Regions from separate parts of the Homo sapiens genome. Here region 2 is linked to region 1. Evidence: promoter capture Hi-C in 16 types of primary human blood cells and fetal thymus (Javierre and others, 2016). All regions are on one chromosome and are shown on one strand. Each heading gives the region's core, a stretch centred on a gene start or on the middle of the fragment in contact. The rest is flanking DNA. Distances are from core to core; before and after follow the strand shown.

Region 1 (4,323 bases), core at 1,209-3,708:
AGTGATGCAGAAAACTGCATCAGGCAATCTGGTCATAGATTTCGTCTTTCACCTGCTGGTAAGGTGTATTACATTGGTTGATTTTCAAATACCAGATTAGCCTTGCATCTTCTGAATAAACCACCTTGGGTTGTGGTGTATGATTCATTTCATATAGTGTTGGATTCAATTTGCTAACATTTCGTTAAGGATTTTTGTGTCTAAGTTCACGAGAGATATTGGTCTATTGGGGTCTGAAGTTATTTTCATGCTGTCTAATATAGTGTGGACGTCAAAGCGACCTCCTAGAGAACATTCCTAGCTCTCAGAACGTTCTAGCTGGGGAGGGAAAACGGAAAAAGGGGGGCGAGAAGCGGAGGGACGGGGAAGTATATAGTAATACTTCCCTTGAACCAGTAAAACTGTAATGCCCAACCTGGTTTTTACTAACTGTTTTCAGACTCTCCCTTTTCCTTTAATCACCTAGCCCTGTTTCCACCTGAATTGACTCTCCCTTAGCTAAGAGAGCCAGACAGACTCCATCTTGGCTCTTTCACTGGCAGCCCCTTTCTCAAGGACTTAACTTGTGCAGGCTGACTCCCACCACATCCAAGAATGCAATTAACTGGTAAGATACTGTGGCAAGCTACATCCGCAGTTCCCAGGAATTTGTCCGATTGATAACGCCCAAAGCCCCGGGTCTATCATCTTGTAATAGTCTTAAAGCCCCTGCACCTTGAACTGTTTACTTTCCTGTAACCATTTACCCTTTTAACTTTTTGACTACTTTACTTCTGTAAAATTGTTTTAACTAGACCCCCCCCCCTTCCTAAACCAAGGTATAAAAGTTAATCAAGCCCCTTCCTCGGGGCTGAGAGAATTTTGAGCGTTAGCCGTCTCTCGGTCGCCAGCTAATAAAGGACTCTTAATTCGTCTCAAAGGTGGTGTTTTTCTAACTCGCTCAGGTACAACAAAACATCCACGCAAACAGGTTGTGAGAAGTTACGTCTGCGTGCTGTGATACCTAGAGGAACCACTACGAAAACTATACATAATGATATTTCCCAAGACATTATCAGTAAATCAAGATGGAATTCTAAAAAAATGTACTGTATCCATTGGAAGGCACAAAAAAAAAAAAAAAAAAAAAATGCAAAGGAAACAAGGCAAAAAACAGCAGACATGAACCCTAAAGCTTGTTAAATGGATTTCAGGTGCCCTCCAGGATCTAAAAACCAGACCCTCCTGCGTTGGGGACCGGGAATCCGTATTTTTGACAAAAAGCAATTCTTCAATTATAGAAACATCCATAGAACCGGCCGTAGTTTACACAGCTGCATTCCCACTGTTTTACAATCGCATGATCATTTCTGAAAAGTTGAAAACAAAGTTAAAGAATATTTAAGGGGTTAAGAACAAAAAGCCTGGGGAACACAAAAGATTATAAAAACCCTTCCCAACAGCAGGCATACTTGGAAGGAAACCTCACATGCAAGGCTCCTTCGTGGAGCCCAGAGCCCAGGTCCTGACGGGAGCACATTTTAAGAGATGGACTTGCCGGCGCGGTGGCTCACGCCTGTAATCCTAGCACTTTGGGAGGCCGAGGCGGGTGGATCACGAGGTCAGGAGATCGAGACCATCCTGGCTAACATGGTGAAACCCCGTCTCTACTAAAAATACAAAAAATTAGCCGGGTGTGGCGGCGGGCGCCTGTAGTCCCAGCTACTCGGGAGGCTGAGGCAGGAGAATGGCGTGAACCAGGGAGGCGGAGCTTGCAGTGAGCGCGATGGCGCCACCGCACTCCAGCCTGGGCGACAGAGCGGGACTCTGCCTCAAAAAAAAAAAAAAAAAAAAAAAAAAAAAAAAAAAAAAAAAGAGATGGACTTGGAGCGTGTGCTTTTGTTTTCTATGCTATTCAATGTGTTCACAGCAGGTCCCCTGGATGAGACCACTTAGCCTTCAGCTCCGGAGGCGACCCAGGCCGGCCTTGCCAGGTCCCTCTCCCTGACAGGCGCCCCGCGACAGGGGTCCCACCCCGTCCCTCCGCTCCTCGCCCCCTCTTTTTCCACTTTCCCTCCCCAGCGAGAACGTTCTGAGAGCTAGGAATGTTCTCTAGGAGGTCGCTTTGACGTCCACACCGCGCCTGGGGGATTCTGCGGGGAGCACAGGACCCTGGGACGAGACGCAGAAGTCGCTCCACGCCCTGGGCGGCCTCAGCTCCCGCGACACCGCAGCAACTCAGAACCCAGGCAGGGGCCGGGCAGCCAGCATGCTGCCCCCACGTTCACCTCCAACTCCCACCTCTCGGCCCTCGCCCCAACCCGCAGGACCCTGGCAGCGCACTGGCTGTCTCCGCGGAAGCCCCCGAGGGCCTCGGCGCGGCCCCGCCCCCTGGAAGGTTCCCGACAGGCGCCGCGGGCACCCCGGCCGTGACGTCACGGCAGCGCGCCGGCCGCGAGAGAGGGCCCCGTCGCGACCGCGTCCCCTTGGGTCCTTGATCCTGAGCTGACCGGGTAGCCATGGCCTTGCGGCTCCTGAAGCTGGCAGCGACGTCCGCGTCCGCCCGGGTCGTGGCGGCGGGCGCCCAGCGCGTGGTGAGCGGGCGGCGGGGTGGCAGGGTGGCGGGGTGGCAGGGTGGCGGGGTGGCGGGGTGGGGAGCAGTTCCACATCTCCCCCGGCCTCTGGCGGCGGCTCCCAGGTCGCTCTCCGGGTGGGTTTGGGGGACCCCTCCTGCCTCCGGAATTGTTTGGTCTTTGGTCGTGGACAGACCTCAGGGGGCCACGAGCTTCTCCAGGCCATTTTATCTCAGCTTTAAGCAAAACGCTGGAGCGCGGAGGTGATCAGGGCCCCGAGGCTGCCCTGATGCGGGAGGCCCGTGTGCAGGTGGCAGGCCGGGGGCACACGCGCTTGTCATTAGATAATTCACGTAGCAGCCCTGTCAAGAGCCGTTTAAAGGTCGGGCCCTGCTGGGTGCTTGGGTGATGCCATGTTGAGCAGACACGGAGTTCAGTGCTTGTGTCCGCTTCCTTTTGCCTTTACTCTGACTGACTACTCTCATTTCTTAGCATTTTGCCCCCACCTTCTTCAGTGAAATCGTTTCATACATTTGTAACACAGTTGGATTGCTTTGTCACATTCTGCCTTACATCTTGGGATCCTTCTACCTAATGCGTTTTTTAAAATGTGCATACATTGAGCGCATTCTTTGTGCTATAAGGTTCTATGGATTTTTTCTTTGTGCTATAAGGTTCTATAGGTTTTGACACGTGTGTAATAGCATGTCTCCACCATTATAGGTTCGTACAGAGTAGCTTCACTGCCTTAAAAAATTCCCCTCTGCTTTACCTATTAAACCCTTCTTTTTCTCCAACCCCTGACAACCACAGATCTCATTAACATTTCCATAGTTGCCTTTTCTGGAATGTCATATAATTAGAATCATACAATATATTGCCTTTTCAGACGCCTTGAATACTTGGAAATATCTATGTAAGATTCACTTATGTCTTCGTGGCTTGGTAACTCATTTCTTTTTAATCACTGAGTAATATCTCATTGCATGGATGTACTTCAATTCATTCAGCAATTGAAGGGCATCTTGGTTGCTTCAAGTTTTTGGCAATTATGAATAAAGCTGCTGTAATCGTGTACATGCAGATTTCTTTTTGGAAATACATTTTTATATCATTTGGGTAATACCTGGAAGAGCGATTACTCATGTAGTAAGACTAGTTTTCTAAGAAGCTGCCAAGCCATCTTCCAGAGTGACTGTGCCATTTGACTCCCACCAGAAGTGAAGGCTCTCCTTGTTGCTCTGCGTGCTCGCCAGCATGCGGGGCTGTCGGTTACTTTGGATTGCTATCCATTCTGATAGCTGCGTAGTGGTATCTTGTTTCAACTTTGGAATATCTCATGATATACAGTGTTCATCTTTTCATATACTTATTTGCTATCTGCGTTAATTTCATTTGCGAGAGGTGTTTACATCTTTTGCCCATTTTTAAATTGGGTTGTCTGCTTTGCCTTGTTTTGTAACTTGTTTCTTCCTTACTCTTCAGTTATCAAATCAAGATCGAAAAATATCTTGATATTTCATATTCTCCTGTTTTATTTAAATTTCACTATAAAGTATTTTAATATTTTTGTGTTTTTCTGAGTACTTAGTATTCCATAATATGGATATGCCTTAATTTTGTTTAACTATTCCTCCGTTGTTGGACATTTAAGGGTTTCTATTTGCATTTTTGGTGTTACATCATACTTCATTGAGCATCCTTATAGGTCAATCTTATGTATATACTCTTTGAATGGATTCCTAATGCTGTAGACCCAGCGTCCTCTAGG
Region 2 (4,176 bases), core at 916-3,415, 110 kb before region 1:
CACGGCCCCCGGGAACACACCCGTGGTCAGAGGAGTTGCGTTTGCTGCTCTTCGATGGCTGCAGCACCCCATGGGGGCCCGCGGTGCGTCTCCATAACCTCGTGTGGGATTTGAGCTCGTGTTAGGGGATTTGGGGGAAGAAAGTGGGCTTTACTGTGCCTTGGAAGCGAGGATAATTCTCCGATTGGGCCTCTTAATCTTAACTAGAATGAGGGAAGACTGGAGCAGCCGTCATTCCTGTCGGAGCGGAAAAGGAGACATCTGGCATTTATGTGCTTTGCGTAGTGGCCTCGTTCTTCTTTTTAATTATACAGGATTATACAGTCGTCTTGGGGTTTTGTTGGTCTCTATTGTGTTCACAGAGTGACCTTGTCTGATGTGAGCGTTCTGAGATGGTTTATGGTCAGCAGGAGAGCACCACAGCCTAGCTCAGAGTGGCAGGCCAGCTCCTACATGTCAGGGCCTTATGTGCTCTTTCTCAAAGCTTAGGGGCTGCAGAGGTGGTCAGAGGCAGCCCTTGTGCTTGTGGAGGTAATAGCATGGCAGAGCGGCTGATTGCAAATACCAGGTGTCATAGAAAGCCGAAGGCGCACCGACGGATGGACCCTCAGGGCTTTGAGGGGGCTCAGCAAAGGTACAGCTGAGGAGTCGACTCTGTGGCCAAATGCTGGGGGACACATTGGTGTTTGCCAGGTAGTGGGGGATGAAGGCCCGGCAGGAGCAGAGCCCTGGGTTGGGGGATGCCGACTGGCTCACCAAGGGAAGGGAATGTTGTGTCGTTTAACATGGTTGAGCGTGCAGTGCCAGAGAGAGGGGAGACAGTGGGTAGGGACTCTCTCCCTACCCAGATCGTGAAACCATCTGGAACCATGCTAAAGAGGGTGGCTCTGTGCACCCCGCTCCCGAAGCACTTCCATTAAACCCAGGCTTCTCAGTCCTGTTTTACAGTCCTAGGCTTCACAGTCCTAGGCGATGTGGAGCCACCGGAGGGCTTTACAGTGGGGAGTGAGAGGCTCCGACTTGCTCTGTAGGGTGGCAGCATTTACGGGTGAGAGGGTAGAAAAATGAGAGCAGGGAGAACAGGAGAGTTGAAGAGGGTGTGAATGAGGCAGATGGAGGTAGGGACAAGCTTCAAGTGGTAGAATGCGCGTGGCTTACTGTGCTGATGGGGACAGGGAGGGTGGCTGAGAAGCCAGGGGAGGAGACTGAGTGTCCTGGCTTTTCTGAGAGTGTCTGAAAGGGAACAAGGGCATGCAGCTATGTGGGGATCAGGGCAGGTCTGAGCAAGCGGCCTTGTGAATGCTGGGGCCAGGGCAGCAGCAGGACCTGTGGCCAGCTGTCCAGGGTGCTGCTGTCAGAGGAATCTGCTCCCTCTGTCACCGGTTGACTCTAAACAGGACCCAAAATCCTGAGGGCTTCAGATTGCCCAGCTTGGGTTGTGACATGGTTTTTCCACTGCCGTGGAGTTGTGGCAGTGGACGGTCCATGATAGCAGCGGGGCACCAGAACCTCAGAGGCAGAGCAGGTCAGTTTCCTCGGGGAAGTGGTTTCATTCCCAGAAGAGAGAGGGAAGGGATCCTGAGTGGAGGCGATGGGCTCAATTTCGCATGTTTGTGGCCTCTGGCGATGTCCGGCGAGGGATCGGAAAGCTCTCCTTGAGGGGCACAGAGAAGTAGTGGTGCTTAGGTCAGTGGTAGGTTTCTTTTTTAAAGGCAGACAGGAATCAAGGAACAGAAGCCCTTGAGAGACCTTAAAAATCATTCCTTTGAATTCCTCCCCCTCCCCCCAATACACATTCCTGTGTCTGGAACTAAAATGTTGACTCCAACTTGAGCCTGTTTCCCCTCACCCATCTTCTTTTTTTGTGGGGGTAGTGGCCCTGCAATGCACTTATCACCTGTTCTTTCGGAAAACGCACCTGACATAACCTTGCCTTTCCATTCCCCAGGCGGGAGGCAGCACCGGGCTCTTGATGGACTTGGCAGCCAATGAAAAGGCCGTTCATGCAGACTTTTTTAACGGTAAGGATGCTTGGAATGGGATGCCAGATTTAATCTGAATATTTCTTCTCTAGGTGAAGGCAGTGAAGCAACTTGGTGACATGAATAATTTGGATCATAAGGTGGTAGAGCCCCTGCGCTCCTCTCAGAATGCAGTGCAGCCTCTGTGGAGCGATGACACGGGCTGCGGCCACTGGCAGGCAGCCTTATTTTTCAGGAGAAAAGTAGCATGAAATTGTTCCCAGCTTGCAGCCCAGTAGTTGAGTTTGAGCTCTGGCATGCGTGTTACATGTGCCTGCGGACACCTCAGACTGTAGCCAGGTCTGGGCCCTCACCCCACACACGGCCATAGGAACCCCATCTGTCTCCCTGTCTCCGCCCTCTCCGGGTAGCCGGTTTCCTTTCCTCTCCCAGCCCACCTGTGTTTGCCTGCCTGGGTTCTCATGCCCTCAGCTGCCTTTGCAGAGGGACAGCCATACTCCAGCTCTTGCCCAGCTCTGAAATCAGGACGCAGGATGTGTTTTCCTCTTGATTTAAGGGCTTCAGTGCTAGTTACCAAAAACATGGGTAAACCAAATGAACAGTGAAAAGCAAATTTTCTGTAACATCTTCAGACCTGCTAGAGGGAATATTTCTCATTCTCTTCTGATTTCTTCAGGCCTTATTCCTATAGATGATATTAACCTTTACTAAGGGTTCAAATAATAAGTAAATAAGATAGGTTTCTTACTCCAGAGAGTGAGGTGGCATTTTTCATCCTGGTTTAATCCATGGTGCTTTTCTCTACAGAAAGCTCTTGTTACTAGTTAACAGCTAGGACCTGAGCTTGCCACATCGGTTTCTAATTTACCAGAGACCCCCTGCCATCCTGAGTCCCTGCTGCTTCATCAGGCTTACTGTCAGGCAGCCATTGCCTGAGGGGAGCAGCCAAGCTGCTGAGTTGGGGTGCAGGCTTTCCCAGGGTGCCTGGCCATGCCCCTGAGGCAGCATTCTTACTGCTACCAACTGGAGTCAGAACTGAGGCAGATGACATTTGAGATGAGCCTGGAGAACTGAATAGCATTTATTTCAATTCTTTATGCCAGAGCGAGGTGGGAGAAGGGTGTTGCCTTCAGAGGGAACAAATTGTACAAAGCTGCAGAGCGCTCTCCAAAGCTGCTTTGCAAAAACACCAGCTCACCAGGGCGACTTTGAAGCTTTTCACGTGGGCAGGATTGGGCAGTTGCTAATGCTGGCACCACACGCTTGCATTTTGATGATCTCCTTCAAAGTCCCATTTATCCTCTGCCAGCCCATTGGTTAGAGGCGATTGCTGTGTTCTAGTGTTTGAGTTCACATGACTTCCAGAGTCAGCCCTTGAATCCTGACGGGAAAGCATCTCTGAGAGGGACCCAGGTCCTACCCGTCAGGTGAGCGCCCAGCAACCTGAGCATTGTGGGCGCGTGTCTGCCTTTGAGCCACGGCCGGTCAGGGAGGGGACGCAGGAGAGCTCTGTGTCCCCTGCCTGCCCACCCACTAAGTTCACAAAGCACTCACTGTCCCATCAGGTTGTGACAACCCCATGTGTTCAAGAAGCCATTTACTTTGAGAGACCTCTGTGGGCTGTGGATGAGGCTTTTGCTAAGTCCTTTTTACTCGTCAAACAGATGGGTTTGCTGGGCTGTTACACCCTGGGCACCAGGGTTCTAGCCACGAAAGAGACACTCTCTCTTCCCTCGCCATGTCTTACAAAATTGTGGGTCCAGACAAGTCAGCAGGCAGGGGCTGGACTGTGACAAGAGCCCTGGCAAAGCGTGGACGGCATTGTTTCTGGGAGCACTGCAGAGGGAGGTTTCTCCAGAGGGGGCAGCAGAGCAGAGGTCGGAAGGTGTGGAGTCAGCCAGGCCCAGGACTGCGCAAAAGTGCTCCTAGCGGCGAACCACAACCAGCAGTCGGGAGGCAGTGAGGACGTGGGGGTGCATCAGTGTGGCTGGGGAGCGTCGGGACCCTCTGCAGTATCCAGAGATGCCTCAGGGACGCCACCCTCCCCAGGAAGGCTGGATGCTGTGGTGCCAGCAGGCCCCTTTCTCTTCGCTCTGACCCTCCAGGAGTTGAACCTCCTCTTTCTAGTTCATAATTCATACTGCACATTTTCAGTGCGCAGTACATGTGGGTGGGCTTTTAGTTGTATTTTCAC

What was found. Contacts are between HindIII fragments. The CHiCAGO score rates a contact against its expected background, and 5 or more counts as called.
Region 2: a contact is called between a fragment that was not itself captured here and the fragment with the promoter of NDUFA10 in region 1, in 1 of 17 cell types (total B cells). The highest score is 5.1, in total B cells.

Annotation. Positions count from the first base shown.
Region 1 is chr2:240,023,477-240,027,799 of GRCh38, reverse strand. It overlaps NDUFA10 (NADH:ubiquinone oxidoreductase subunit A10), which reads left to right and starts at 2,458. Exons shown (of 10, transcript NM_004544.4): 1 at 2,458-2,573. The coding sequence starts at 2,499. RefSeq lists an enhancer at 1,634-2,463 and a silencer at 2,272-2,531. The HindIII fragment of the contact is 3,872 bases long and covers 1,177-4,323 here.
Region 2 is chr2:240,131,778-240,135,953 of GRCh38, reverse strand. COPS9 (COP9 signalosome subunit 9) reads left to right here. Exons shown (of 3, transcript NM_001163424.2): 2 at 1,949-2,021. Among named protein-coding and RNA genes, the nearest start is that of COPS9, 2.4 kb to the left of the region's middle. The HindIII fragment of the contact is 2,067 bases long and covers 1,132-3,198 here.